Linked DNA regions of Homo sapiens: regions 2, 3, 4, 5, 6 and 7 are each linked to region 1. The links are contacts of gene promoters, found by promoter capture Hi-C in blood cells and fetal thymus (Javierre and others, 2016). All regions are on one chromosome and are shown on one strand. The core of a region is centred on a gene start or on the middle of the fragment in contact, and the rest is flanking DNA. Distances in the headings are between cores, read along the strand shown.

Region 1 (4,337 bases), core at 1-2,500:
CTTAAAAATGTAAAAGACATTCTTAGCTCGTAGACCCTTACAAAAACAGGCAGCAGGCTAGATATGGCCTGGGGGGCATAGTGAGTGGACCCCTGTTCTAGTGGATATCCTCTTCTCAAAACCTGATGTTTAAAAGCATTTTCCAGGTGTGCCGTTGGTCAATGATTGGGGGTAACGCTAAAAGAAAACCAGGTTAATTTAACAAAATACTAACATTAGAAAAATAGCCACATCTGATTACAGACTTTGTATAAAGCCTCTAGTCTTTACTTTTGGCTATGAGGTTTTATGACTCCAGGCCCCACAATACAGGCCCCTTTTTTCTCACGGTCAAACTCTACAAGACACGTGTCCGCTATTCCCCTCTCCTGGGCTCTTCCAGGTGCACAGAGGGTGGGACTGCGTGCGGTATCATATACTGGTTAGGACAGCAGCTCCGGTCTAAGGCCCTGTCAGCACTGACTAGCCACACACAGGGAGAGTCACCTAAACGTCCGATGCCTTAGTTTCTGCCTGTAAAATGATATAAGAGAGTTGATAGAGCGGTTAAAAAAATCAGACAATACCATACTAGCCTAAGCACAGCGCCTGGCACACAAAGACTCCGCAGTAAAAGGCGGCTCCTATTATTGGAACAATTAGCATAGAAACTCAACTGCCGCTCCTCCAGGTGGGCCTCAGAGGGGGTCGAACAGGACCAGACCCAGGAGGGCCCCACACCAACTTCCGGAGGGCAGGACTCTGCCTGCCAGTGAGCCCCAGATCCAGGGACTAAGGCAGCAGGGGTGAAAGCAGGTAGGGGGAAAGGCGGGATTTGGGGGACAGGCAGCATGGGGGAGGGAGCAGGCAGCGGGGGATTGAGGGGAACTAGCAGCACGGGGGTTGGGGCACAAGCAGTACGGGGGAGGAAGCAGGCAGTCGGGGGTTTGGGGGGACAGGGAGCACGGGAGACGAAGCAGGCAGCCGGGGGTTTTGGGGGGACAGGCAGCGGGGGAGAGAGCAGGAGCAGGGGGTTTTGGTGGGACAGGCAGCGGGGGAGGAAGGAGGCGGCAGGGGGTCTGGGGGAGACAGGCAGCGAGGGAGGGGCGAGCGGGGCTCCTCCCACGGGATCCCCCGAGTGCGCCCGCGACGAGGGGTGCCGGTCCTCAAACTCCCGCTGCTGGAGCAGGCAGCAGGAAGTACCTCACCTTTCAGGATGGGGGCCGCCATGACAGACGGCGGGATCCGGCCAGCTGGCCTACGCGGTGCTTGCGAGCCTGGCGGCGCGCGCGGGCACTGGGCATGCGCGGGGTGAGCGCGCCGCCGTCACCGCGCTCCGCTGAATCCGCGTTTCCGGGATTTCTCTGTAGGTGAGGCGGGAGGCTGGAGGGAGCTGAGCCCCCGGGGAGGGGGCCCGATTCCGCCTCGCCGCGCCTCTGGCTGCTGGGCCGTGGGTTTTTCTCTTCTCCTGGGAGTAAGGAGGACGACGGCCCCTAACCCCTGAATTAGCCTTCTATTTCCATTAGTGACTTAGAAGCTACCCGGCGCCTCATCTGGGCTCACCTGAGCTGAGGATCAGGAAGGGGAGGGGGCACAGTCATTCCCTCGCGGACGCGGCGGGACCCCAGCGGACGGCTTTGTGCGGACTTTCGGCACCGTTATGCCCCCCTAGCCCGACACCACCTGGGGCTGGCGCGCCACGTTACTGTTCAGGGCCAGACGCACCGCCCTGCCTGCTCCGGGGAGCCGGACCTCCGATCCCGGGGATGGGGGACCCCGAGACCTCAGACCCAACGGAGGGGACTCTGATACCTCAGACCCCACGCGGGGACCCCGAGGCTTCAGACCCCCACAGGGTGACCCCGAGATCTCAGACCCCCGCAGGAGTACCTCCAGACCTCAAATCCCCAGTAAGGGAATGAAAGAGACTTCGGATCCCTGAGGCAGCAAATCCCTGTAGGGGCATCCCAGGACTCAGGTCACCGCGGGGTGAACCCAGACCTCACATTCAGGCAATCCCCAGGACGCCGATCGGCTGGCACTACCCACTGTCCCGGCCACCCCCCCTGGAGCTCAAAGGCTTGGCCCTCCAGCTGCTCCACCCTGCCGGCAACCAGGCTCAAACCTGCAGCCCGCGGATCCCCTGCCCCGGAAGCAACCAGATTCGCGGGAGGTTACCTGACTGATCCAAGGTGATACAGCTGGTAACTGATGGAGATGTTGGTAGTGAAATTCATGTACTTTTAGTTCTTTCTATGGAATCTAGAGGTAGAATACATGTAAAAGAATATCGACTACCGTCTACTCAGGTCTCTGTTTTATCTGTTTATTCATTCACTCTCAGCTTTTAATAGGATCCAATGAGCCCTCTGTGGTTCTGAAGAATTGCCTTGAGTATATGCAGCCTCAAAAAACCCACTTCCTAGGCTCAGTCTTTGATCAATATTTATCATTATCACCAGTTATTGTTCTAATAAACTCTACTCTGGAAATATGGTGTTATGGTTTACTTGGGAGTGTGAGTTCAGGGCATCATTGAAGACTCACGTACTTTTACTGAGAAAGTGACATTGATCTCTGTAGATTTTGAATTAAATGATATGATGAAGTATATAAACCAATTACTTTTGGTCAAGGTGGTAAAAAAAGTTTAGTATTTGATAGATTCTTCATCTCCACGATCACAAATATTTTCTCCTAGGATTTCTTCTAGAAATATTACTGCTTTAGGTTGTATATCAGGTCTAGGTTCTACTTTTTTTTTTTTTTTTCTCCAGGCAGTTTCTCACTCCGTTGCCCAGGCTGGAATGCAGTGGTGTAATCACAGCTCACTGCAGCCTCAACCTACTGGACTCAAAGGATAAGATCTGCTTTTAATTAATTTTTGTATACGGTATGGGATAGGGACCAAAGTTCATTTTTTTGCATGTATACATATCCAAATGTTCCAGCATCATTTATTAAAAAGTTATTTTTGTCTCTACTGCATTTCCTTTGTGCTTACATCAAAATCTGTGTTGCATATGTATGTGTTTCATTTTAGGCTTCCTATTGTGTTCCATTGAGCTATTTGTCTTTTTGCTGCCAGCACCATGCTGTTTTGATTATTGTAGCTATATAAATAAGTGATGAAATCAGATAGTTTATGTCCTACAACTTTATTTTTCAAGGTTATTTTGTATCTTCTAGATTCTTCAGATTTCCTTTTAAATCTTAGAGTCGACTTCTCATTTTGCACAAAAAAATACTGCTGGGATTTTGATTGAGATTGTGTTGACTCTACAGATGAATTTGGGGAGAATTGACATTTTAACCATATTGAATCTTCTGACCCATTAACATTTAGGTCTTTTAAAATTTCTCTGGCCAGACGCAGTGGCTCACGCCTGCCACTTTGGGAGGCCAAGGCGGGCCGATCACAAGGTCAGGAGATTGAGACCATCCTGGCTAACACAGTGAAACCCCATCTCTACTAAAAATACAAAAAATTAGCCGGGCGTGGTGGCATGCGCCTGTAGCCCCAGCTACTTGGAAGGCTGAGGCAGGAGAATGGCATGAACCCGGGAGACAGAGCTTGCAGTGAGCAGAGATCTTGCCACTGCACTCCACCTGGGGCAACAGAGCGAGACTCCATCTCAAAAAAAAAAAATATAACTGTTGTTAGATTTTAACCTAAGTATTTGTTTTTTTATTTTGTTTTTCTTTTTTTCTTCTTTTTTTTTTTTTTTTTTTTTTGAGACAGGATCTCACTCTGTCTCCCAGGCTGAAGTGCAATGGTGTGATCATGGCTCATCTTGAAGCCTCGACCCTCCTGGGATCAAGCTATCCTCCCACCTCAACCTCCTGAGTAGCTGGGACTACAAGTACACATGACCATGCCCAATTCATTTTTTAAATTCTTTGTAGAGGCGGAGTCCCACTATGTTGCCCAGGCTGGTCTTGAACTCCTGGGCTCAAGCAATCCTCCCACCTCAGCTTCCCAAAGTGTAGGGATTACAGGCATGAGCCACTGTGCAAGGTCTTGTGTTTTTTGATAATATCGTAAATGGTGATTTTTTCATTTGTTTCTGATTGTTGCTAATATATGGAAATATAGTTGATATCTGCAATTGATCTCATGTCCTGAAAACTTGCTAAATCTGCTTAATAATTTTTTGTACATTCAAAATGATGTTCTACAGGTAGTCGTATTGTCTATGTTGGAAGGAAAGCTTTTCCTCATTCAATGTCGGTCCTGTGTTTGAAGACCTGCAAATTAACTGATAACAACAGGTTAACAGGAGAAAAGACAAGGTTTAGAGTAACTCACTAAATAGAAATAAAGGTTTATAGATCCACTTAACAAAATGTGTTGGGAG
Region 2 (4,337 bases), core at 185-2,684, 4.9 Mb before region 1:
AAGTGGCTACTCGCTGCTGGAGCCCACAACAACTCCGGGCGGAAGCAGCAGGTCTCGAAACTCGGAAGACGCGGAAGTCGCAGCCGGAAGTTGGTCCTCGCTAGGTCCTCTGGAAATGCCTCCGGAAACACAGCCAGACCAGAAGATGTGTGTTCCTACGAGAAAAAAAGCTTGTCTTTGCCTTCACGCCCTCCCGCTGCCTTTCTTAACCACCTACAAATATTCCTTATCAGAAGAGGTCCGGGAAGAGGGAGGAGGTCCCTGTCTTGCCTTCCTCCGCTTGAGTAGTATCCCCTCCAGAAGCTCTTCAGAGCGTGGGGCTGCTGTAAATTGTGATAATTGTTATGCATTAGCCCTGAAGACATGGCAAGTAGGGGATGGAGGCGGTGACTGTGACCTTACGGAATCCTCCAGGGGTCAGGGAGGGACACAGGGCCACTCCACAGGCTCTCCGAGAGCGCCGCGCCACGAGGTGTAACCTGGAGCAAGAAAGAGGAAAAACAGGAATACCTGTGAGAGGAACCCAAGTACATGCAGTGCACAGAAGAGCAAGTCACTTGACTTGCTGGCGGCCACCCCGTTAATCTGCAGCAGAGCCTGGACTTCAGTCTGCATCTGTGAAACCCAGCGCATGGGTGCGTTGGTCACCACCGCACAGCCTCCCCGTCAGACACCCACGTTTCGCCAAAAATTTATTCAAATAATTACTCCTTTGCTTGTTCCTTTCCCACCGCCCACTTCTGACATTTTTATTCAAAAGTAGGAAATAGAAGAGAAATATGTTTGAGTGCTGGTCTGCTGTGACTTCATTGACCTTTTAAATCCTCACCATCTAGTACCTAAGCACAGCGAGTTGGACAAACTCTCACAGTATTCACAAAGTAAATTGCCACAACCTCATCAGCTCATCCAACACTTGTCCATGCTTTTGATTTTGTCCTTCTTAAAATGTACCCTTCTTAAAATAAACCACTTTATAGACTTGTTTTAAGTGAGATACGTAAATGCCTACCAACTTTCCTTGGTGTCTTTGTTGCATAGTTACTGTAGACTGAATAATAGTTGCCATTTTTTATATTTTTGCAGTTTAATTGCTTTCGTCCAAATAGATGGAATCACTTCCTTTGTAATATATGAAGTGTTTTAATTCATTTTTATAACTAGCATTCCTGACAGCACAGGTATCCACCCCCTGAAGTTCCCATTCTATAGAACAAAATAGCAAATAAGTATTTTTTTTTTGTTCCATAATGGACACCCAGTATACACCCAGTATACACAGGGACACCGCATACAGGGAATCAGCTTTATTTTACAACAGAGCTTCACTTTACCCCTCTGGCAATTAATAGATTCTGGGTATTTATTAAGAACTTTAAATTTAATGCAAAGACTGTTAAATACCACCAGCTCAGCTCTGGCAAAGGACTGTTGGCTTTGTTTATCTCCTATCTTCATCCAGATACACTGCCATCCCTATCCCAGCCCGATCTTGGGTCCTTGAAAAAAATGACCTATCATTCCAACTACCAGGGAGGAACTCCCTTTGAATTAATGAATCTGGATGACTTATAAGACTTCAAAAGTATGGAAATGACAAAGGTTAAAATGACAGGATGAGCAGTAAACCCTCTCCAGTCCAATCAGAGCAACCTTTTTGAGGGTGCATTCCCACAGAAACCCATTAGGGGCCCAACATCAACATACACAGAGCTAAAATTCCAGATGCCACTTTGTATTGAAAGAAGCCAAAATTCTGTTCAGGTCGTGGGAACTTGAAGTCTTCAATGCAACCACACCCCAGAAATTAACCCTCACACAATCATGTAAGCTATGCAATTAACCAAACTGCATCGTTTAGAAAACCTGTATGCTTTTCATGGAAACCATCCCTAGTTAAGGGCACTTTAAAGGATGCACAGTCTAAGTACTGTGAAGGTGGGCCCACTAGCTGGGTTGACATTTTCGCTTGGCCACTTTAGTAGGAAACTTAACCACTTGGGAAAGTGAAAACAACAAGCTAACCCACATGTTCACCATGGAAAACAATTTTTGTCTTGAAAAACAAGGAACCTTTTCCCTGTGCAGCACCAGTTCCTACTGTGTTTACCAGCCAATTGGACTGGAACCTGTACACTTGGTTTTTAGCCTCCGAAATCAATATAGCTCCCGGCCGGGCGCAGTTTCTCACGCCTATAATCCCAGCACTTTGGGAGGCCGAGGCAGGCGGATCACCTGAGGTCAGGAGTTCGAGACCAGCCTGGCCAACATGCTGAAACCCTGTTTCTACTAAAAATACAAAAAATTAGCCGGGTATGGTGGCGCACACCTGTAATCCCAGCTACTCTGGAGACTGAGACAGGAGAATCACTTGAACCCTGGAGACAGAGGTTGCAGTGAGCCAAGACTGAGCCACTGTGCTCCAGCCTGGGTGACAGAGGGAGACTGTCTCAAAACAAACAAACTATATATATATGTGTATATATATATATATATTTAGAGAGAGAGAGGGAGAGCTCTCAACAACCAATCCCTCATTATACCTTTAACTGCAACCGCCAGACACAAATGAGCAATCCAACTCAAACGCCTTTTTGTTGGGCTAGGAATAACAGTGAGAGCAGGAACGGGAGTTACCGGGCTTGCAACTTCCCTATACTGTTACCAGCACTTTCCAAGGATTTTGTGGAAAGCTTGGATGACATTGCCCAAAGTATCGTCACAACACAAACTCAAACAGACTCCTTGGCAGCAGTTGCTTTACAAAATAGAAGGGGACTGGATCTCCTAACTGCTGGAAAAGGTGGCTTATGTCTTTTTCTAGAGGAAGAATGCTGTTTTTATGTCAACCAATTAGAATTAGTAAGGGATGCCACCCAGAAATTAGCTGACCAGGCTTCTAAGATACGACAACAGCTGTCCAAGTCGTGGTCCTCCTGTTCAAAAATGCTAATTAGGGGTTCATGAGTCCTTCCTCTGACTGGCTCGTTGTTAATTATACTTGCCTTGGTTTTTGGACCATATTTATTAAATACATTAACCAAATTAATTTCCTCTCGCCTAGAGACCATCAAGCTTCAGATGATCATGCAACAAGGTTTCCAGCCAGTTCAGGTGAAGACACCACTACTGGCCATCAAGAAGCTACCCTGTATCCACTAGACAGAGCAGAGTGAGAGTTCTGTGATCCCAAATAGGTAGGCACCGCACCCCAAGTCAGCATGAAGCAGTTACAGAAGAAAGACCATTGGTCCCTCTGCCTCCCATAAAGATTTATGGGGATCATGTCTCACAGCGGGAAAATGAGACAGGAGAATAGGGTCTAGAGGCAGGGAACCTAAGGCCAATTCTCACTGACTTCCTAGAACTGAATCAGAGGGGAAACCCCACCTCTTCACACGAATGTAACGAAAGGATCAGAGGCTACTCCCTTTGCACTGCACTGCAAATGAAAAATGGAAAGTACCTCTGATTGGTCCCCTCCCACAACCATTCAGACTGGTTGCAGGCCAAGTCTTCATGTGTAACTTTGTAACTACCGTCACTTCAGACTCTGATTGGTCACCTCCCATGATCAGTCAGACTTGTGACGGGCCACTCCTTCATTTACATAGGGTGTAACCAAGTAACCAATGGGAAACCTCTAGAGGCTATTTAAACCCCATGCTGCACGATGGCTCACACCTGTAATCCCACCACTTTGGGAGGCTGAGGAGGGTGGATCACAAGGTTAGGAGTTCCAGACTAGCCTGGCCAACCGACATGGTGAAACCCTATCTCTACTAAAATTACAAAAATTAGCCAGGTGTGGTGTGGGCCTGTAATCCCAGCTATTGGGGAGGCTGAAGCAGGAGAATTGCTTGAACCTGGGAGGTGTAGGTTGCAGTGAGCCAAGAATGTGCCACCGCACTCCAGCCTGGGTGACAGAACAAGACTCCGCCTCAAAAAAATAAAAAAATTAAGCCCCAGAAAATTCTGTAACCAGCGCTCTTGAGCCACTTGCTTGAGCCCGCTCCCGCTCTGTGGAGTGTACTTTTGTTTCAGTAAATCTATGCTTTTGTCGCTTCACTTTTTTGTTGCTTTGTTTGTGAATTTTGTCCAATTCTTTGTTCAAAATGCCAAGAACCTGGGTGATTTGTAGTCAGTACTCTCCACCAGTAACAATAATATTGTTGCACCTGAGAGTCCAGTCTAAAAACAAGAACCAACAGAGTAGGGAAGATGAGGGGGGATGATTTACAAAGTTATTTTTTTAAACTGGAGTTTTTGACTTTCTTCATTTATGTGGATAAGTTATAACAATTACCAATTGTGGAATGAAGAATTTAATTACAGAG
Region 3 (4,337 bases), core at 663-3,162, 4.8 Mb before region 1:
ATACAATCTTGTATCTTTGGTTGAGGACCAGAGAAAAGACTTGGCTTGAATTGGGAGGGCATGTGGGAAGACAAACACAAGGCTTTAAGTCCTAGAATCCCACTTTGTCTGGGAAGGCAATCATATTAGGAACTAAGGAACAGAGGTCTACAGTGTTCTATTTCCCATCTCACACTCAATCTGGGGACATGTGCTCTATGCTCATTCTCGGAAGTGGCCTGTATGATTTGATTTGCTATTGCTTGATCTTCATTTTCTTTTTTTTTTTTTTTTTTTGAGACAAGGTTTCACTCTGTTGTCCAGGCTGGAGTGCAGTGGTGCAATCACAGCTCACTGAAGCCTCGACCTCCTGGGCTCAAGTGATCCTCCCACCTCAGCCCCCCAAGTAGCTGGGACTATGAGTGCATACCACCATGCCAGGCTAATTTTAATATTTGTTTTTTCAAAGACAGAGTCTTGCTATGTTGCCCAGGCTAGTTTCCAACTCCTGGTTTCAAGAGATCCTTCCGCCTTGGCCTCCCAAAGTGTTCGGATTACAGGCGTGAGCCACTGCACCTGGCGATCCTTATTTTCTTTTGGTTGGGCATGATTAGTTGACTCCACACACGGTAAGTGTACGTATGATAAAGTTACACTGTACTCTGCTCTTTGGGGAGTAAATACATGAAGCTTTTTATCCTTACTTAGACAATACAGTGGATAAAAATATAAAGAAGCTCAAGAAGGGTTTAAATCAATTCACAGATGTCGGAGTTATAACTAGTTTTTAAGAGACAAAAAACTTCACAAAATACTCCTCAGTGATGTTGCTGTTAGAGAATACAGATGTACCTACCCCCGCCGATTCTTACCGATCTCTGTGACACTACATATGGGTGCATATTCCCTGCGACCTCCCCAAACTTCCCCCCAAACATTTATTATCTTTCTCCCATCCTTGTTCCTACTCACAGCATTTCTCTCCACCATTACCACCACCCTACAGGTAATCACTTTGTTTCTTAGGTCTCTTTCCAGAGTTGCTTTATGCAAATACAAACAAATAAGAAAAGATAACCTTATCTCTTCCCCTTTCTTACAGAAAATGCAGCATGTTCTATTGTTTTGCACTTTGAGTTTTGTGTAACAAAGCATCCTGCAACTCTTTGTATATCATTAAAAAGAAAACTATCATTTTTCAACATCACTGCACCATATTCTGTTGTGTGGATGTACCATAATTTATTTAACTAGTTCCCCTTTGGGTGGACATGTGGGTTTTTTCCTTCCATTCTTTCTCTCAATTGTAAGCAATGCTACATGAATAAACTTGTACACACATACTTTCTGACATCTATGTATTTATCTGTAAGATAAAGTCCCATAAAAGGGATGGCTGTCTCAAAGGGTACCTGCATTTGAAATTTTGGTAAGTAGTGCCAAATTCCCTTTCATAAAGATTTTACCATTTTGTACCACCAGCAACAAAGTATGAGAGTGCTTGCTAACACTTCAATTCTTAACATCGAATACAGAAATGTAGCTTCCAGGGATAATGGGTTCTATGAGCTTACTCCTCAGCACTCAAAGAAGTCCTGTTTCTATAGAAGTCAATAAGATACAAGGCACAGAATTGATGAGGATGACATCCACCTACTCTTTTGAAGCTTTATGTAGGCTCAAACTAGGAAAATCTTACGAAAAATGTATAAGACAGCCTCTTTGTAATGCTTTTGCTGAGGCCTATCCCCATATTGGAATTGAGGTGTTCTGTTTCCTAGCTGCATACCAGCATTGTAATAGGGTCCCTACTCTGACTAACACAGTAACACTAATTTCATTTGGAAGTGCCAGTAGCTGCCTGGCCCAGGACAATGGCAGGGTAAGTAGCAGGCTTTGGAATTACACCTGCCTGGATTCTAATCTATGGCTCCCCTTACCCATGTGACTCTGGGTAACTCATTTGGCAGACTCGAGTCTGTTTTCTAGACCATTAAAATGGGAATACTAATCCTCATGCGTTTTTGGACTGCCATATAATTAAAAGGAGTCACGTATGGGAGACTGTTTAGTACATAATAGCATTCAACACTAACTTTCCTTTGTGCCTTTCTGAAAATAGAGAATTGGGAAGAAAAACCCCAAAGGGCTTCTAAACATTTAAAATTTATGTCACAATTTCTGTATGTTAAAGCTTTTTAACTTTACTCATAGAAGAGGCTCTAAAAATCTATTTAGTATTATTTTACATGTAACTCCAACATGCTTTGTTATTTGGCTTCTCTGTCTATATTAAAGTGTAAATACAGGGGCCAAAGTTGTTAATTAACTGAATAAACAAAGAAAGCAGAGATTAAAAAATACTGTTAGAAAAAACCACCACTGCTACCACCACCACCACCAACCTCAACAACAGTTGGTGCTTAGCAGGCCGGCACAGGCACATAAATAGTTAGAGCCTCTTAGCATAAGGCCACTTCAAGGTCAAGTTGTCAAGAAAAGGTCAACTTTCTGCCTGATGTGCAGAGCACAAGCCAATGGGCAATGCATTTCTTTCACTTTCCCCCCACTTTAAAGTTTTGAGGTATCTCCGTAATGATTGAATTTTATGGAGGTTTACATCATAAAACGTAAAATACATTTTTTTTGGCACTTAAAGGTGAAATTTCAGTTATCTGGAAAATTAATTTGCACTAATTTAATCAATACTTATAGAGTGCCCACTATGTGTTCAGCATTGTGCTAAGTGCTGGCTTACTTGGAACAAAAATCACCCCCAAAATTCTAGGTAAAAGTGTGCCATCCAAAGCACAGTCCAGATTTATGTTAACTTTTCAGTGAGTCTTCATGAGAGGTTTATTATCATTGTAACTGATTTTAGAGCCTTCTGGGTTCCATAATGTATCCTTCTTCCAAAGAAAGTAGAAGGACAAAATTGTTGAAACAGCAAATGTAAAGTTGAAGTCACTTGACAGTCTGAGAATCTTACATATCTACTTGAAACTTCAATTGTAATAAACACTTTTGACTCATAAGCTCATTTGTCAGCCTTATATAGCGAGTGTAATTTACTTAGCTAATTTCACTAGTTTATGTTCTTTCAGGGCACACAGAAATAGGAATCATAAATACACCATTACTGCCCGCTTTTGTATCTCATTTCACAGCCTCGTAGCTTAAATAGAGAAAATATATTTGAAAGCACAAATTAATTGCACCTATTTTCTAGAAGTATTTCAAAATGCTTTCTTTTATTAGAGATACCAAATACACTCAGCGATAGAATTTAAGTAGAAACATGTCAGTATTATGCAAACATAATAATAACAACAGTAATAATAATAGCAGTTACTCTCTAGTGCTTAGCTGCCTATCAGGTATCATATTGAGATCCTTGAAAGGATTACCACCTTTACTCTGCCCAGCAACTTTTCAGAAAAGTCACTGTTGTTATTTCTATTATATCAAGGTGAAAACTGAGATTTGAAGAGGTAATCTTGCTCACATTATTCATGTTACTATTTTAGTGAAATTGGGGTTCATACCTGGGCAATCCTACTCTATATTTATGCCATGTAAGGTGTTATTCATTCAAATTCAGCAAAGAAACAGAATCCCATCTATATGCAGAAATAATCTTTACCTGCTGGCCTTAAGTTTTACTACCATAGGGAGTATGAGGCTTACATATGAGTATGAGTTTTACATACCATAGGGAGTATGAGGCTTAAATCATAGCATGAAATACATGGATACAGTTATATGGCTGGTTTCTAAAAGTTGATTTTGGAATCACTCCCCTCTTCCCAATGTATGGGAGTAAAAATTCACTATTAGTAATTTTTCTAAAGTCTTCAGAGATTTCACACTGGCATATATACTCATGAAAAGCTGTGTCCTAAAATGTAGTATCCCCATCTACCCTGCCACTCCCAAAACTCATAGGTGCCATAGTATTCAATAGTATCAAAGTAACTATTGAAGTTGTCAAACGCACCTTTCTGCCATAGAACCTCCAGCCATATAAATATTACCTAATTTGTACTCTTAACATTCTAAAGACAGTTATTGGCATTATTAGAAGACTTTAGTGAATGGAGAAGTAGACAGAATCACAAAAATGAGTTCAAAAATCTAGGGAAGTCAATGAGAAAATTCAGGGATTTTTTTCCCCCTCATTCTTTTTTTTAACTGTAAAATGTTCATTTCATCTGATCAGGAACAACTGTAACCATGTAGCTTGCCCTATTTTGGCTATCTGGCTTCAAAAATACTTTCACTGGAAGATCATTGTAATTCAAATCCATTCAGTGCTGTTTCACTTTTGTAATTTGTTAGCTAAGTTTAAGTAGTGTATC
Region 4 (4,337 bases), core at 1,338-3,837, 4.6 Mb after region 1:
AATTGTGAGACAGCAGGACTAGAGCCAGAAGCATAGGAGGAGCCATTCACTGTGGCCATTCAGCAAAAACTTGCCAATCATTATTCAGGCAAAAAGGTCGCTGTGACCACACCCCAAGGACATGGAAAACACTAGCTCACACAAGCATGCAAAGAATGTGAGTCCTGGGACCTGATGCAAATGACAAGGGAGCACTGATCACTCCTAACCTCTTGCTTTGATAATGGTCTATAATCAAAGGCAAAATAGTACAAGAGTTTGTCTGTTTCTCCATTAACACTCCAGCTTTAACACAGACTAGCTCTGTTTGAACACAAATCTGATGTGGGGAAAGACAGCACTGGTACTCATGTTTCTCCCTAGAGAAACGGCTCCCGTGTCATGCTGCCCCTGGTGCGTGAGTTCAGGGCACACAGGCGTGCTCTCTGATAGATGCTATGGATGACAACTGAGGGGCTGCCATGCCCATGTGTGCCCTCGTGACCCACACTTCTGGTCATGCTATATATCAAGACTCCAGTGTACTTACACATCTCCAAACACATTTCTGTTAACCTGTTGACAAATCAGGTTGAACATGGTATTAAGGGGCTGGCAAGAGCACTCGGCTCTGGTATTCAGTGTGCAGCAAGGCATCGTTGAACCCCTATGCACTTCACAGGAGCAGATCAACTTCAAGTGCAGCCTAATGCCTGGAGGGGAGACCGCTTACCAGCATTAAAGAAAAGCAGGCTGGGTGGAAAGGACAGGTATCAGGCAAGGAATAGCATCCATTACAAGGGTTAACGTGAACAACACTGTTAAAGGTTAAAATATGGACCCCTCGTAAAACTTCTCCCTGTACTTTTCCACGAGTAGGTCATCAGCTCTGACTTATAGGTCCCATTTTGCCACAGTTGCATCAATGTCCGCTTGGCCAAGACCACTAACTTCTGTAGGACCTCTGCCTTGAGACGAGAGAAACCCCGACTCCAGAAGGCTCTGCCCAGATCAATGACTCAAATCCACCTCAGTGGAAGTGGTGAGCCCAAGTGATGCTTCAGGAGGTCTTTGGTTTGGTCAAGGTGAGAGGGACTCCAGGACATGAGAACCAAAAACCAAGAAGAGCGGCTGGCTTAGTGGGCTCTGATCTTGATTTCACTATTTAGGAGCTAAGAAACCAAGTTTCAGGCTGGGTGTGGTGGCTCACACCTGTAATCCCAGCACTTTGGGAAGCCAAGGTGGGTGAATCACTTGAGGTCAGGAGTTCAAGACCAACCTGGCCAACACGGCAAAACCCTGCCTCTACTAAAAATACAAAAATCAGCCAGGCGTGGTGGTGCGCACCTGTAATTTGAGCTACTCAGGAGGCTGAGGCAGGAGAATTTCTGGAACCCAGGAGGGTGGAGGTTGCAGTGAGCCGAGATCACACAACTGCACTTCAACCTGGGCAACAGAGCAAAACTCCATCTCAAAAAAAAAAAGAAAGAAAGAAAACAAGTTTCTTTCCTAACCACCCTGGACCCCAGAATCTGACTACAGGAAAAAGAAATACACAGAGCAGGCCGAGTGCAGTGGCGCACGCCTGTAATCCCAGCACTTTGGGATGCCAAGGCAGGTGCATCACAAGGTCAGAAGTTCGAGACCAGCCTGGCCAACATGGTCAAACCTCGACTCTATTAGAGATACAAAAAATTAGCTGGGCGTGGTGGTACATGCCTGTGATCCCAGCTACTTGGGAGGCTGAGGCAGGAGAATCGCTTGAACCCGGGAGGTGGAGGTGGCAGTGAGCTGAGATTGCGCCACTGCACTCCAGCCTGGGTGACAAGATGAGACCCCGTCTCAAAAAAAAAAAAAAAAAAAAAAAAGAAAGAAACATACAGAGCAGCGGGAAATGAAGCACCTACTACAAGCCAGATGTTCAACTAGTTTGTGTGATCTTCACCATAAGAGCAAATAGCTACCAGGTCTTCAAGCTTTCTAGATATCTTTTTGGAGAGATTACCATATCTACAGAAAAGTGGCAGATAGGTGAAAGACATGGAAACAGAAACAGGTAAGCCACAGCTGAGTGGGCAAACCCTCCTGGCAGTCAGAGAACAGGTGCCAATTAGGGATGCAGAAACAGCAGATTATAAAGACCAGAATGCTTACTTCCCCTTCCAGTCCTGTAGTGAATCCCCCATTCTGATTCTTTGCTCAAACCTCCTGACTTTCTGGGTAAGCTGGTGCTGTTCTAGTCTAACTCGTTACTGTGGGTCTCTGAGTTTAGTTAATGCCAACCAGCATCCTCCAGCCAGGAGTTCACAAAGGAGGTGAACTCCTCAGCTCTCTCAGCCATGAGGGTAGAAGGCCAGTCCCAGAGGCAGGATCCAGCCCAAGCGCCCAGTCTTCCTGGAGTCCTGCAGAGCTCTGCTGTCCTTTCGTGGCATCAGCGTTGTACTGAGAACAGCTGTGGTTCACCCCAAGTCACAAGGTGGGCACCCACAGAAGTGTGGCTAGGCCTTGTTCTGTCAGGCAGCACAGAAGGGGTATGGGAAGAGCTCAGCTTCTCCTTTTGCTTCTATTTCTGCTCCTTGACCCAACCACACCCTCTCACTCTTGATACGCAAAATGGGACACAGGGGTTCCCACTGTTCCCTTGCTGTGCACCATAAGGCTCAGGCCACATGAAGGAGTCCTTAAGTGTAATGCACAGCTGGAAGTCACTGTTCCTTCCATGGGTAAAACTGGAGGCCGAATCGGCCGGGCAGGGTGGCTCACACCTGTAATCCCAGCACTTTGGGAGCCCAAGGTGGGAGGATCACGAGGTCAGGAGATCGAGACCATCCTGGCTAACATGGTGAAACCTTGTCTCTACTAAAATACAAAAAAAAAATAGCCAGGCGTGATGGCGAGCGCCTGTAGTCCCAGCTACTCGGGAGGCTGAGGCAGGAGAATGGCGGGAACCTGGAAGGCGGAACGTGCAGTGAGCTGAGATAGCGCCACTGCACTCCAGCCTGGGTGACAGAGTGAGGCTCCGTCTCAAAAAAAAAAAAAAAAACAAAAAACTGGAGGCCGAACCTAATGGACTCATCTGGTTCTTTCATTCTGGAAGGCTTCCAAGCCCTTCCACACCAGCCCCTTTCCTCTCTGCAGTAGAGGAAGTGGAGCCGGAGAATAAACAACTCCTGGAAGGCCACCATCTCTTGACGCTGCAGATCTTCATTTTCTTTGGAGAAAATGTATACAAAAAGCTTGTCTTATAAGATTCTGTGGTTTCAGCTCTTCTATTGCACTGGGCCATGAAGTTTTTTAAAAATCTGAATGCAAACACATCAGTAAGAGTGTTAGCTCTGTTGCTGCAGTGTGACCAGGAACCAGGCTCAGTGGCCACTGGAACCCTTCGACTCTGTCATGCATCTATGCGCTCCTCCGGTTTATGGGGGCTAAACTGCTATGGATACCAGCATTTTTGTTTTTCATTGAGATAATTTATCCAAACTTGGAAGTGACGTCAAAAGGGAAAAAAAAGGTTGCATGCTTTTTTCCCTGCTAACGCAAGTTCAGTGTTTTACAACCCCAACAATCACTTGACTTTCTAGGAGAAATAACTAAACTATTTACCACTGATTGTGGGTCACGCATTTTACAATCTGCAAAGCTAATTCTCCTTTCCATCAAGAAGAAAAGACAATCCCAAAGGCTGTGGTTTCAATGCACACAGGATATTCACCAATCTTATTATCTAATCTGGCAATCTTCTCTCAGCATTCCTGTTACCCACTCACTAAGAAAATCCTAGTTTTGTGTATTCTCTTTTGAACTGACATTCCTATCCTGCTGTATACTGCATTAATGACTGAAATATAACCTGACAAGAGCTATTTACATGAGAATTATACTTCTAACATTTTGAAAATTATACATTGATGGGTTGTAAAAATGTTTTCCAAAATCAACAGAAATACATGTTTAATACACAAAATTCAGAAAATATAAACAAGCATAAAAATACAAAAATAAAAATTTACAATCCTCTTACACAGCTCCAAGCACCATCACTATTTTTTGGTGCCTGCTGGGTCAATTGTTTTTCTAGATATAAACTCTTCTTTTTACATAAAAGGGGATAACAGTATACAAGCTGCTCCCCGGCCTGCTTCTCTTCTCTCAGCAACAGCTAATCCTCCTCTGCAACACGGTTGCAGGGACTCCACCATTTACCTACCCGGTGTCCTACCAGGCTTTTGCCCAGTTCCTCGTTATCAGAAGACATTGTGTATTGAACATCTCTGAGGCCACCTAGAGAACCTGTGCTCTTTGTATGGAAACTGGATGCTCAGGAAGAACTTCCTTAACAACCACAGCCTCCATGA
Region 5 (4,337 bases), core at 627-3,126, 4.6 Mb before region 1:
GTCTTTGGGAACCAATCCACCTAGCTGGAGAAGGACATCGTACCCTGGTAATGAAGACAGGCATAGAGAGGCACAGGGTTCAGGAGGGGACAGTCAGCACCGCAGGTGGCTCCGCAGCAGGTGAGAAATGATCCGCAGGAGGCCTTCATGGAGCCAGGGGAAAGACTCTGCTCCCAGACATGCTGAAGGCAGAGTTAGCAGTCCCTCGCTGTGGGGTTCCTCAACCCTAAATAAAGGGGAACAGGCCAGACCTTTATGCCACCTCTCACCAGCTCCTCCTCAAGTGGCCCCCACAGATTCTAAGATAGAAAATCTCTTTAGAAAGCAGTCCCAGGTGGCACAGTGGCTCACACCTGTAATGCCAGCACTTTGGGAAGTTGAGGAAGGAGGATCCCTTGAGCCCAGGAGTTTGAGACCAGCCTGGGCAATGCAGCCAGACCCCATCTCTACAAAAAATAAAATTAGTCGGGTGTGGTGGCACTGCCTAGAGTTCCAGCTACTCAGAAGGCTGAGGTTAGAGGATTTCTTGCTGTGATCATGCCACTGCACTCCAGCCACCAGCCTCAGATGACTTCGGGGGCCTGTGAGGTGCCTCACTGCTTCCAGGGCAGAACAGGGTCTGGGATCTGCAGAGGGTTCTAGTGCCTGCTCTGGGAGCAGCCCTGGGTGCAGAAAATGCAGGGCCAGCTCAGTCTAGGAAATGGGGACATGGAGGGAGGGCCCTCCCCAGCTTTCCACCTGCCCATTTTCTCACCGCCAGCTGACTCAGTGATTGAGACGAGTTCCTGTCTCTGGTTTTGTTCGGCACATCAGAGTCTGCGACTGAGCCTTTGGTCTGGAGTTTGAGCAAACTGGAGCTGAAATTGCCTCGACAGATACCTTGGAGCGCTGACACCGCAGCACCAGCCCTGCTGTGGCCAGGAAGGGAGGGAGGGGACTGCCTTTCCTGTGTGTCTGTGGGTCACGGCCTTGAGTTAGAGCCCCGGGCCTCCTGCCCTGGGACGTGGAGGACCTTACACAGGTGCCTGAGGAACTAAATGTTGATCAATGAAATATTTATAACAAATAAAAAAGTGGAAAATATTTCTCTGCTTTTGTAGTCTGAATGGTATAGTTGAAAAGACCCAGCTTTAAAAATAAAAAGCTTGGGTCTTGGTTCTACCACTTACTAATTGCAGGGCCTTGCGCAAGATAACCTCTCTGGGCCTCAGTGTTTGCATCTGTAAAAGGGGAATAATGTCACCCTTCTGTGGGTCGTAGGGATGGAAAAAGATGACACTGGAGGAAGCGCATGCATTCTCCTCTGCTCCTGCCGCCCGCTTCACCCATTGGCTGCTGACTGAGTTTGGGATTTTGACACTTAGTCTTTGTCCCATTCATGTGTCTAAGACCTAATTTCTGGTGTTTGTATAAGGTCATTTTGTGGTCTCCCACTTGGAGTGGGCCCTCTGCCTTGGACCCAGGGGGACTGCTTGGACATGTTTGAACAGCAAGAGAGTTTTGGGTCGCTGCAGGTAGAGCATAAGTACCTGTGTCCACATGTAAATCTGCTCTCCCCTAGCAATGGCCATGATCACCCAGGTGGAACAATGGGGCTTGGTTACAGCCCATGCACCTTTCCCAGGGATGCTAAGGCAACAGCACTCTGCAGCATCTTTCTCTGAACTGTTTGTGCTACTGGCACCTACTGTTTTGTGCCATAGTTACATGAATGAGAAGGGTTGGACCTCTTTAAGAGAGGGCCCCTTTCTATCTAGGATGCACTGTCTGTGGACTGAAAGCTCTCCAGGGCAGGGGCTTCTTTGGTTATATTTCTGAAAAAGCTCCCCAGTGGGCCATGAACTCCTTCAGGCCAGTGCCTTTGTTTCTTCCCCTTTGTTTTCTGCAGTGTGCAGTCCAGTGCTCAGCTGGAGACAGAGGCTAAGGAAATGCAACTAGAAACACAAAGTAAGCAGCTGGTACCAGCCAGCAATGATGGTGGGAGGAAAGTAGGAAGGAGGAAAAAGGTTTATATGGAACAAGGCTAAGTTCAGGAAGCCAAGGTCAGGGAGACAGGCTTACCCTAAAGTTCCTTGAGGGCAGGGATTGTGTCTTATCACGTTAGTATCTCAGGAGGCTGTCAGTCTTAGCATAGTTGAATGAAGCAGGAAAGTGAAGAGAGAACATTTGAGACTCTGAATGGATGAAAAGAAGCACCAAGAATATATAGCAGTCATGATCTCTGATGTGCTTGACAACAAAGTCTCTATGGACTCTGGAGCGTTTGGGATCCTGTGTGCTTTGGGCTCCTGGGTCCTGAGCAGACCCAGCCACTGCTCTCTGAGCTGGGTCTGTTTTCTGCTTGAAAGGGACAAAAGGCTAGAAGCTACTAATGAATTGTGCTGGGCCCTGAAGAAAGAAATGACTATCCATTTATATTTGTGTTATGAATGTAAACCATTGCTTAAACAAGGCAGTGTCTCTGTCCATGGGTTTATACATTATACATTAAGCTCATCCTTAATCCGATGGAACTTATGGAATCCAGCAGCAGCTAGAAACTCTCAGCAGTCCATCACTTTAGCTGTACCCCTTGTTCTACTCCAAGTGCAAGAAAAATCTAAGCTTTTTACCCACATGAGTGTAGGAAGAGGGAAGACAGGGTTCTGTATAACTCTTCCTCTCCCTGTGAGACCTGCAGTGCCTTCCTGTAAGAGGCTGCAGTGTCTTAGGACACAGAGTTTCTGGTCTGAGACTCTGAGAGAAGCCCAAGATTCCTTCCTAGGACAGCTGTTTTATGGAGATGGTTTAAAATCTGAGGAGACTAAGGCTTGACGTATCTTAAAGCCAGAAGCATTTGCCTCATAGGACCCCCTAGGGTCCCTTTGTAAAAGGTGAGCCTGAACCCCCATTTCCCAGGGCCAGATTGCATCATCTCCACAAGTAGCTCACCCTTAGATAGTACCTACTCTGTGCCAGCCACTATGCTAAGCAATTCACATATACTGACTCTCTGATCATCACAACAGCCCTAAGAGATAGTTACTCATGTCACTGCCATTTTACAGTGGATGAAACTGTTGCACAGAGAGGTCACCTGGCCTGCCCAAGTGCACACAGCAAGTTTAGGGGGAAGCATACTTCAGTAAGGATCTCAAAATTTACATTCTAGACCCTCATATTAGGAAAAAGGCGTAAGAGTTCAAAGTTGACCTGAAAAGCCATAGCCCATGAATGCCAATCAAGGCCTCCTTGGCTGAGATTTTGAGGACCAAAGGAGGGAAAGGAAGCTCTTAGGGGCTGGGGTGTTCCCTTCTTGGAAGCACCCAAAGGCTTCTCTCTGTCAAAGCCCCAACTCACCGATACATGTGTGATACTTCCCAGGCTGCAAGCACATTTCTTTCCTCGATGGGTTCTTACAAGCACCCTAAGAAGGACGGGGAGAAGCAGCACCGTTTACAGGTGAGGTCACAAGGAACTTAGCACAGGGCTTGCCACATCATTGGGACTCAATTCTTATTTGTCAAATGAATTACTGAATGACTAGATATTTGGATGGATGGATGGATGGATGCATTTCTGGAGGGATGGCTGAGTGACAGGAGAGTGGACTTGTGCTTCCGTGTCGGGATGCACAGACGGTGTCGGCTTCCTACACTGAAATCATATGAACTCTGGCCAAGCCCTGGCTCCACTGAGAGCCTGAACTCAACTCCCAAGACCATTATTTGAAGTCCCCTCATCCTATGCCTGCCCTGTAAGTCCCCATGCTCCACGGAGTCAGGGCAGAAGCAAGCACTTCACAGACAGGGAAAGGGGACTGGGCCTTGGGTGGGTGGGGATGAGGCCACCATCTCCTGTCCTCTGCTCTGACAGGTCCCGCTGTTCCTTGGAGAGGCCTGCCATTCCTTCCTGGGGGAAGAGTGCCCTATCCCTTCTCTCCAGTGGATTATCAGTGGCGGTTCCTCCACTATTTATAGCCTGCCGCCTCTCTGCCCCACTCTGGCCCGGCTGGGAAGTGAGCACCACAACCTCTGATCGGATTTCTCTTTTCTGGGTTTGAGCTTACACGGAAGTACAGCATCCTCAGAGGCCACAGCTTCTGAGCCTCACGGGTGCCTGATCAATGCTCCTACTTTTAGCTGAAGGTTGGAACCAATTAACCGTGTTAGCCTCTGCCTCTGAGGGCTGTGTCTGCAGGTGTGGCTGGGGCCTGCCAGGGTTACGGCCCTGCAGCCTCAGCTCACCATGTCTTGGCGGTCAGAGCCAGCTGCCACACTGCTCACACCACCTCTAGGTGGAAACTGGGGCCCAGACCTGGGCCTGGGTACAGCTGGAATGTCACCTGCGCGTTCTAG
Region 6 (4,337 bases), core at 1,029-3,528, 3.2 Mb before region 1:
ATTCTCAGGAAACACTATTTGTACCACAAAAAAAGTAAGAATAAACCTTTATTTAAAATTTAGATATCATCAAATGATACTTACCAATGCACACATCGATCTTCCCTTTAATAGCAGCTTCATGCAGAGGTGTATAGTTCCAGTTATCCCTGGCATTTGGATCAGCTCCTTGGCACAATAACAGACTCACAACCTCAGCATGGCCAAAAGAACAGGCATTATGAAGCGGGATGAGACCTCCATCATCACGAGCGTGGACATTAGCACCCATCTGTAGTAAGTGTTCTACAACATCCTTCCTTCCAAAACCTAAAAAGAAACGAAAAAATGTCTTGTATATATATTTGATTTTGTAAAAAGAACCATTAGAATATCTGTAACAATATCAACAAGTATGAACAACTGAAGTACTGCACTCTATAGTAAATGGTGTAAAACAAAAGAAACATTAGCTTCATTCAAACTGACTCATTTCACAGAATTTAGAACTAAGGAAGCTCTTCCTTTAGTCTTTGGGCTGTTCATTCAAAAAACATTTTCTAAACACTTAATATGTGCTGTGCAACAGTGCTAGAAACACAAAATAAATATGACAAGACTTATCCAGGAACTCACTTTCCCCTCAGGCTTCACAACACAAAACTGTATATAGAAACTCATCACTACATTCATAGAAACAAGGGTTATTTAAATACTGCTGATAAGCCGGGCGCAGTGGCTCACACCCTCACAGCACTGTGTGAGGCCGAGGTGGGCGGGTCACCTGAGGTCAGGAGTTCAAGACCAGCCTGGCCAACATGGTGATACCCCGTCTCTAATAAAACCACAAAAATTAGCCAGGCGTGATGGCAGGCACCTGTAATCCCACCTACTTGGGAGGCTGAGGCACGAGAATCGCTTGAACCTGGGAGGCAGAGATGGCAGTGAGCCGAGACCACGCCACTGCATTCCAGCCTGGGCAATAGTGCGAGACTCCTCAATAAAATAAAATAAAATAAAAATAAATAAATAAATACTGCTGATAACCGAATCTAAGACAAATCACAACACACAGCATTGTATTAGGGAAATTGGGGATGAATGTATGGGTATGAGAAACACATGGTGAACGCTTGGTCAAAGGGAATTTTGAAAAGGAAGAACTAAAGATGATGCCAAAATATCTATTCTTGGGGCTAGTGGCCAAACTATATGAAATGGGTGGTGAACTGGAACAATTCAAGCTTGGATTCACTTAGTTTGAGGAAACGATATGGCAAATGAGTGGGAATACAAGCACTTGGGAATATAAAACCAGAATTTTATAAGAAGTATCACAGTTTTCAGACAAAAATGGGGGTTTAGGGGGAGTCAGAAAGAGTCTCAAGTAGTCTAAGGATGAGGCAAACACTTAGAAAGGTAAGAAATACTAAGAAAGCACAACATCAACATCGTGGAAGTCAAGGAACAACAACATTATGCAAAGTCCAGTACCATGAGGATTTAATGAGATCAACGGAGAAGAAAACAATGGCCATTGGTAATATTAAACTAATTTTAGTATAGTGGTAAAATTACAAACTAAATTGCAATGGGTTATAAAAGGAAACCGCAAATATTCGCATTTTTATATTCACAAGCTAGAATCTTAATTAATGATTCTTTCCCACTTTAAATTGTATTAGGTCTTATTAACTAGGTATCACTACCTCTACTATTATTGTGTAATACTGTTACAAAATGGCATCTTAAATAAAAATAAAAGACAGTAAAAGAGTCACATCTTCCTTTATTTTGGGCATATGTTAAACAAATAAAAACCATGTGGAAAAGAGTAAGGGGAAAAAAGAAATTTATCTCAAGATATGTCTTCCATGCTATCTATAGAAATTCATTCATTCCAGAAAAGCAGGCTCTAAGAAAAAGTCTCCAAAGTAAAGCATACATTTCCACAGATATGTATTACAAAGTCAGAATGAGGTTTCCGTAGAAAATATCCTTAAAAATTAAGCTGATAATTTTAGGTGAAAAGATCAATTTTGTATTAGTAACTGAATCAGTAAAAGCATAGGGTACATGCTCAAGTAAACTGTCAGCATCTTACCAGGGTTCCTGGTTTTGTTTTTTAAATACCTGCAGAACTTTACGGATGTTAGGTTTTCTTTAATTCTCTAACTTCGACTTCCTTCCCTCTACCATCAATGCCCTACTCTTCCACTGGGCCATAAGTGCTGTCCTGACCCAGGAAGGTTGAATTATTCTCCTTCTCTACGGATCTGAATAAAGCCTGAGTGCAAACTTCCATTTCCCTAATCAGCACCAGCCCTTGAGAGCAGCCATGGGAGCTGACTCCTGCAAAGCCACAGGGGTGGAGCCGCCCAAGGCCTTGGGAGCCCACCCCTTGTGTTGGTGTGGCCTGGATGTGAGCCGTGGAGTCAAGGGAGATTATTTTGGAACTTTAAGATTGAACAACTGCCCTGCTGGGTTTCGAAGTCCATGGAGCCTGCAGGCCCTTTGTTTTGGTTGATTTCTCCCTTTTGGAATGTGAGTATTTAGCCAATGCCTGTACGCCCACTGTATCTTGTAACTAACTAACTGGCTTTGATTTTACAGGCAGAAGGGACTTGCTTTGCTTTGAACTCTGGACTTTTGAGTTAATGCTGGAATGAGTTGAGACTATTGGGGACTATCGGGAAGGCATGATTGTATTTTGAAATATGAGAAGGATATGAGATTTGGGAGGAGCCAGGGACCAAAAAATTTGGTTTGGATTTGTGGCCCCACCCAAATCTCATGTCAAATTATGATCCCCAGTGTTAGAAGAGGGGCCTGGTGGTAGGTGAGTGGATCATGGAGGCAGATTTCCCTCTTGCTGTTCTCGTAATAGTGAGTTCTCACAAGATCTGGTTGTTTAAAAGTGTGTAGCACCTCCTCCTGCTCTCCTCTGCCTCCTTCCCTGACCATATAAGACATGCCTGCTTCCCCTTCACCTCCCGTCACGACTGTGAATTTCCTGGGGCCTCCCCAGCCATGCTTCCTGTACAGTCTACAAAACTGTGAGTCAGTTAAATCTCTTTTCTTTATAAATTACCCAGGCTCAGGTAGTTCTTTATAGCAATGCAAGAACGGACTAACACAGCCATTATAAAAACATTTTTACCATTACTAAAAAAAAAAGTCAAAATAAATTTCCTTGTACATTTGTCCTATTCATTTAAGATAAATGCCTCAAAGTAGTAGTACTAGATCAATAGGTATACATTTAAAATTTCACATGTTGCCAAGTTGCCCTCTACCAATTTTCATTTTCAACCAAAATCCTCGTGACCATTCCGTGCACATTTAAAAGCTTTACAAAGAGGCAAAAAAAAAAATGAATTGTTATTTACATTTTTCAGTTCAGATATTTGCTTTTTTACTGTTGAAAACTAAATATATGAATACAGTTGAACTCTTACCCTCAATCCTAGTCCCCTCTTTGCTTCCCCAGAGGTACTATTACATAAATTCAATGTTTGTTATATCATGCAAATTATATACTTTTCAATGTGTGTTTTTTAAACACTTGTGTTTCTATATTTATATTTTATACATTTCATGTTATTATTTGTATATTATGCATTTCATATTCTATGTGATTAGAATATATTTCATATATTCACATTATTTTTGTCAACTTCATATGGTTCAATCTATATTAGTGGAAGGTTGATAACCATAATCCATTCTTCTGGCTGATATGGTTTGGCTCTGTGTCCCCACCCAAATCTCATGTTGAATTGGAATCCCCATGTGTTGAAGGAGGGGCCTGGTGGGAAGTGATTGGGTCACAGGGGTGGTTTCTAATAGTTTAGCACCATCACCCTAGTGCTGTCACATGAGTGAATTCTCATGACATCTGGAGATTTAAAAGTAGGTGGCAACAGGGAGGTGGAGCTTGCAGTGAGCCGAGATCGCCCCACTGCACTCCAGCCTGGGCAACAGAGCCAGACTCCATCTCAAAAAAAAAAAAAAAAAAAAAAGAGGGGGGTGGTGGCACCTCCCGCTTTCTGCTGTCTCTCTCCTGCCCCACCATGATTGCTTCCCCTTTGCCTTCTGCCATGATTGTAAATATCCTGAGGCCTCCTCCCACCCATGTTTCCTGTACAGCCTGCAGAACTATGAGTCAATTAAAACTCTTTTATTCATAAATTACCGTCTTAGGTAGTTCTTTATAGCAGTGTGAGAATGGACTAATACACTGGCCAACAGAAAGACTCAATTTTGCTCAGACTCAATTTTGCTCGGGAATTGGGCAGGAAATAATATACTAAGAGAAAGCCATCCCTTCCTCAGTCCAGAGGAGGAATCCTAATTAA
Region 7 (4,337 bases), core at 1,199-3,698, 3.1 Mb before region 1:
AACAAATAGGCAAAAGTCTGTTTCTGATTCAATTCACTGCATTCCTAATAAGTAGTGTCTGTATATCAATAATGAATCCAGTGACCTAACAATGATTTCCTTTAAGTGTTTCTCATACCACTGGTCACGACCCATTAATGGATCACAAGCAGCATTTGCTAAAAATGAAACAGAATAAAATATAAAATATCAGAGGACAACACATGTATTAAGGGAAAGTATTGTTTCCAGAAACTTTTGATTCAGTTGCGTATGTGACAATGTAAAATGTATTTCTAAGTATGGGCTACAATAAAAAACATGTGAAAGCTACTCTCTTGCATATAAGCCCCTCCGCATTACTACTTCTCCCAAAAATTGGGAACTCTACACTTCAATTACTCACAAAAATGAAAAGTGACCTTAATCCAGGGTTCTGACAGTTTAAGTTTGATTTCACAAGCTCTAAAATCAAACTGCCTGAATTCAAACTCAATTTCCACTATTTCCTGACTGAATTTGGACTTATTTAAGCGATCGATATATGCTTCACTTTTGTCATCTGTAAAATGGTTAATCATATCTCCCAAGTGTGGTAAAAATAAATACTACAGTGGGTCAACACATGTTTTACTGTTAACAGAACAAACTGAAGAAGTGATATATATATATATTAGAAATATAGGAGAAACTTAACAGAAGTTATCTCTGGTGTGTTATCTCTGATGTTTCTGTGTGATGCCTTTCATTTTGTATTTTTCTGTCCTATTTGAATTGTATAACGTACAATATATGTATTTCCAATATAATGTTTCTAATGTATAAAACATTATTACCTACATTTTTAAAATATCAACAATAGGTATCCAGGCAGTGAGATTATGGTCCTTTGTTTTTATTTTACAGTTCTCTTTATTTTATAAACATATTATTAGGTGTCTTTGAGAGAAAATCATCAACTACTTGCAAAAAAAAAAAAAAAGACAAGTGTGGGGTCCAGAGCTTAAGAAATTCACACTTTTTGAGGGAGAACTTTGTGCCAGATACTTCTCACCAAATGCTCGCACAACATCATTTTATGATTTTTGCCCATGAGAAAACTGAGGCAACTGACACGAGGTAAATGGTCTGCTAGACAACAAATAATAGTGGCCACAACATCAAAGCCTATATTTCTTCCATCATCATATAATGCATCCAAATATTCTTCTCCAGTTGTTTCACATTGGCATATTTTGGTCTCCCCGTCTAGACTGCAAACTTCTTTAGAAGAAGGGAAACTTTCAAACACTTCATTTATGTCTTTCATTGGGTTATTAAGGCTACAATAGATCCTCAAACATGTGTTGGGTTGTATTAAACCTCTTTTGGTCTGGACTGTCCTCAAAGGACATACCCTTGTAAAAACAAAATAAACTAGCACACAAACGACAAAACTACTCTAAAGCTGTCCAAATCTAACTGTATTCCTGCACACCAAAAACTAAAGTGTAAATATATCCATATGCAGAGACTACCAACTACAGTGAGTTTTGTAATGAGTACTGTGCAACCACTGAAGAATTCCTTGGATTCACTTATCCCCCCCAACCACGCCCCCATCACCCAGGCACCACCAAAAGAAAGGAACCTCCAGTCTTCTGGTGAGGTGATGAAGAACCATAACCACGCCCCCACTTTGTCCCATCACAATAACCTGTTTTCTTGTCCTAACCGGACCCTGCACCCAAACCCATAACCCTTAATAAACAATTCAAAAGTCTCTGACCTGCAGCGAAGTGCAGGGGAGAAGACTTCCGGCCGGCCATGTCCTTTGCATTTACGTTTGCCGCGTCCACCAGCCTCTTTACCCGGGACACGTCCCCATTGCGACAGGCCTCCAGCAGTTCCCGTAGGGCCCCGCTCACTGCTGGGACCCCTGTCCCAGGTCCTGCTGCCCCAGGCCCCAGTGGTGCTGTGCTGCTAACTCCGGCCGCCTCGGGGCTCTCCGCCAAGCTCGATCCAGGGGAGGATGGAGAGGAAGATGAGGAAGAAGTCGGGGAAGAAGAGGACGACGGTGAATTGTTACTGCCACTGCCGGCTGGGTTGGGAGCGACCCCAGCGGCAGATGAAGTAGAAACCGCTGGGACCACGGGAGCGGCGGCGACGGTACAGATTGTGCTGGTGGTACTGCAACAGCTGGTACCGTCAACCGGGTCCGGGGATCGGGGCCTGTCGGGCGGATCCCGACTGCCATCCCCCTCCGGCAGCGCTAGGCCGTGCCGCGGGGAGGCGAAGGGGGCCAGGCCGCTGGCCGTGGGAGAGGCTGGGGTGGTCCCCGGGGCCAGGCCAGGGCTGAGTGGGGGAGGAGGTGGCGGCGGCGGCGCTGAAGCCCCTGGGGCGGGCTGGAGCTGTTGTTGATGATGGTGGTGATGATGCTGAGAGCGACGCGACGCCGCCATCTTCGGACTCCCCTAGCACTGTCACTGCGGCAACGGCCCCCACCGCCCGCCCTCACTTCCGACTGTCGGACCAATCAGCATCCAGCGCACAGGAAATGATGCTAGGCGGGGTAGCAGGGGCCAAAGAGAAGGAGGGAAGTATTGGGAGCTCAGAGAACAGCCAAGGGAACGGGGCGGGGCTTTGTCACTGAGAGGCGGGCTTTGTGACGTGGTGGCGGGCCGGCTGGAGAGATTTGAATGCTGGAACCAGCTTCTGCCTAGATGGGAAACATTTCCTGCATTTCTCACTTTCAGTCGGCTTTCTTTGCCCTGCTCCGCTCTGTTTCCCTTAGTCTCCCTTTGCTTGCTCCAGAGCCAGCTGTTGAGATGCAGATCAGAGCAAGCAGGGAATGTGTCCGTTATCATCTATTAAGCGTCCTTGTCTGAAAAATGGAACTTATAGTACCAACCTCACAGAATTATTAGCGGGATTAAAAGAGCTAACAGACAAAGCGCTCTGCCAGTAAAACACAAGTATAATTAGCCCGTTGGTAATTTTTTAAATTATAGTATTTCTTTTCCAGGTGTCCCCTTGAGCTCTTGTCCCTTCCCTATAATTTTTCTCACCCTATGTGCTTTAATTCCTCGTTTTTAAATGCTGGTTCAGATTGCTAGGATTGGCGTTCCAGCTCTGCCATTTGTTGTTTATATATGTACTTGCTATTTCATCACTCTATGCCTGTTTTTCTCTGTAAAATTGAAATAACAATAGTGCAATAAGTGTGAATTATTAAAATTATGATTTTTTTTTCCTATTCTGCTCTCTCTGAAATTTTATTTTTCACCCTAAGTGTAACTAATTATGAATATATTCCTTTCTTTTGAATTCTGGCTTAGCTTAGCCTCTCCCACACCCGAAACAGATAAAAACCTGATTGCTAGGCTGGTCACGGTGGCTCATGCCTGTAATCCTAGCACTTTGGGAGGCCGAGGCCGGCGGGCCACTTGAGCCCGGGAGTTCAAGATCAGCCTGGCCATCACGGCGAAGCTCCATCTCTACAAAAAATACACAGATTAGCTGGGCAAAGTGGCACATGCGTGTAGTCCCAGCTACTCAGGAGTCTGTTGGGAGGATCACTTGAGCCCGGGAGGCAGAGGTTGCTGTGAGCCGAGGTCACACCACTGCACTCCAGCCTGGGTGACAGAGGGCGGAGACCCTGTCACAAAAACAACAAGAAAACATAACAAAAACCTGATTGCTGTCCATTACTCACCATCAGGTGCTATTTTTCAGCAACTGCTTTTTCTGTCTTTCCCCCAACCTATGTATACTTTTGTTTTTCTACTATCAAAAGATGTATCCATGAATGAGATAATCCCATTGAGGACTCCATTTCATACCTACTGTTCAATAGTAAAGCAGGCATTGTAGAAGTATACAGAAACAGCATTATTCCAATAGAGTGGACACAGATGGAAATTCTGTAAGAGAAACAAGATTTAGATGAGTCAAGCAGAATATTAAACTAGGTGATAAATTGTTTCATGTGTTCATTGTTAAATATGATTTATGTGATGTTAATATTCCCATTTAAGTAAATAGATGAGTTTATTTGGGGTTAGTAAGTAAATACAATAAGGTCAGGAACATAATTAGTATTACGAGTGGCATTTATTTTCATCTAATCTGGGGTTACAGATTATAATTCTTAACATTATCCAGCTGTGTGATGAAATGTGCCATTGTTCGCAGTAGACACCGGACAAAAAGTGTAGCTGGATAGGAAAACTCACATCAGTGCAACTAAAATCAGTCCACAACATTCTTCTTCATGCTTCTGTTTTTTAATCTTAACTTCTTGATGTACAGCAGAGAACCATTGAGAAGTGGGAGTGATCCAACATGATATGTTAGATATCCATAACACACCATGTGTC

What was found. The method cuts DNA at HindIII sites, captures the fragments that hold promoters and counts their contacts. A CHiCAGO score of 5 or more calls a contact.
Region 2: a contact is called between a fragment that was not itself captured here and the fragment with the promoter of MCPH1 in region 1, in 1 of 17 cell types (naive CD8 T cells). The highest score is 5.1, in naive CD8 T cells.
Region 3: a contact is called between a fragment that was not itself captured here and the fragment with the promoter of MCPH1 in region 1, in 1 of 17 cell types (non-activated CD4 T cells). The highest score is 5.4, in non-activated CD4 T cells.
Region 4: a contact is called between a fragment that was not itself captured here and the fragment with the promoter of MCPH1 in region 1, in 1 of 17 cell types (naive CD8 T cells). The highest score is 7.6, in naive CD8 T cells.
Region 5: a contact is called between a fragment that was not itself captured here and the fragment with the promoter of MCPH1 in region 1, in 1 of 17 cell types (total CD4 T cells). The highest score is 6.1, in total CD4 T cells.
Region 6: a fragment that was not itself captured here is called in contact with the fragment with the promoter of MCPH1 in region 1 in 1 of 17 cell types (naive CD8 T cells); the score reaches 5.2 in naive CD8 T cells.
Region 7: a contact is called between the fragment with the promoter of TNKS here and the fragment with the promoter of MCPH1 in region 1, in 1 of 17 cell types (naive CD8 T cells). The highest score is 7.4, in naive CD8 T cells.

What each region holds. Positions count from the first base shown.
Region 1 is chr8:6,403,540-6,407,876 of GRCh38, reverse strand. MCPH1 (microcephalin 1) reads right to left here and starts at 1,250. Exons shown (of 14, transcript NM_024596.5): 1 at 1,188-1,250. The coding sequence starts at 1,209. It overlaps MCPH1-DT (MCPH1 divergent transcript), which reads left to right and starts at 1,329. Exons shown (of 2, transcript NR_040040.1): 1 at 1,329-2,171; 2 at 2,757-4,321. RefSeq lists silencers at 989-1,168, 1,429-1,508. The HindIII fragment of the contact is 9,682 bases long and covers 1-4,192 here.
Region 2 is chr8:11,280,149-11,284,485 of GRCh38, reverse strand. It overlaps LINC00529 (long intergenic non-protein coding RNA 529), which reads left to right and starts at 455. Exons shown (of 5, transcript NR_170283.1): 1 at 455-635; 2 at 3,065-3,197. RefSeq lists enhancers at 1-186, 462-521, 612-701 and a silencer at 3,484-3,533. The HindIII fragment of the contact is 2,523 bases long and covers 173-2,695 here.
Region 3 is chr8:11,202,540-11,206,876 of GRCh38, reverse strand. No RefSeq gene overlaps it. Among named protein-coding and RNA genes, the nearest start is that of XKR6, 2.9 kb to the right of the region's middle. The HindIII fragment of the contact is 527 bases long and covers 1,649-2,175 here.
Region 4 is chr8:1,765,076-1,769,412 of GRCh38, reverse strand. All of the region lies in intron 1 of CLN8 (CLN8 transmembrane ER and ERGIC protein), which reads right to left. Among named protein-coding and RNA genes, the nearest start is that of CLN8-AS1, 2.7 kb to the right of the region's middle. RefSeq lists an enhancer at 1-270. The HindIII fragment of the contact is 1,260 bases long and covers 1,958-3,217 here.
Region 5 is chr8:11,019,558-11,023,894 of GRCh38, reverse strand. The region is part of intron 1 of XKR6 (XK related 6); the gene reads left to right. Among named protein-coding and RNA genes, the nearest start is that of MIR598, 14 kb to the left of the region's middle. The HindIII fragment of the contact is 1,460 bases long and covers 1,147-2,606 here.
Region 6 is chr8:9,576,131-9,580,467 of GRCh38, reverse strand. It overlaps TNKS (tankyrase), which reads right to left. Exons shown (of 27, transcript NM_003747.3): 2 at 85-309. Among named protein-coding and RNA genes, the nearest start is that of TNKS, 22 kb to the right of the region's middle. RefSeq lists an enhancer at 2,875-2,994. The HindIII fragment of the contact is 2,105 bases long and covers 1,226-3,330 here.
Region 7 is chr8:9,554,023-9,558,359 of GRCh38, reverse strand. TNKS (tankyrase) reads right to left here and starts at 2,448. Exons shown (of 27, transcript NM_003747.3): 1 at 1,748-2,448. The coding sequence starts at 2,420. RefSeq lists enhancers at 1,444-2,103, 2,104-2,765 and a silencer at 2,186-2,345. The HindIII fragment of the contact is 11,121 bases long and covers 1-4,337 here.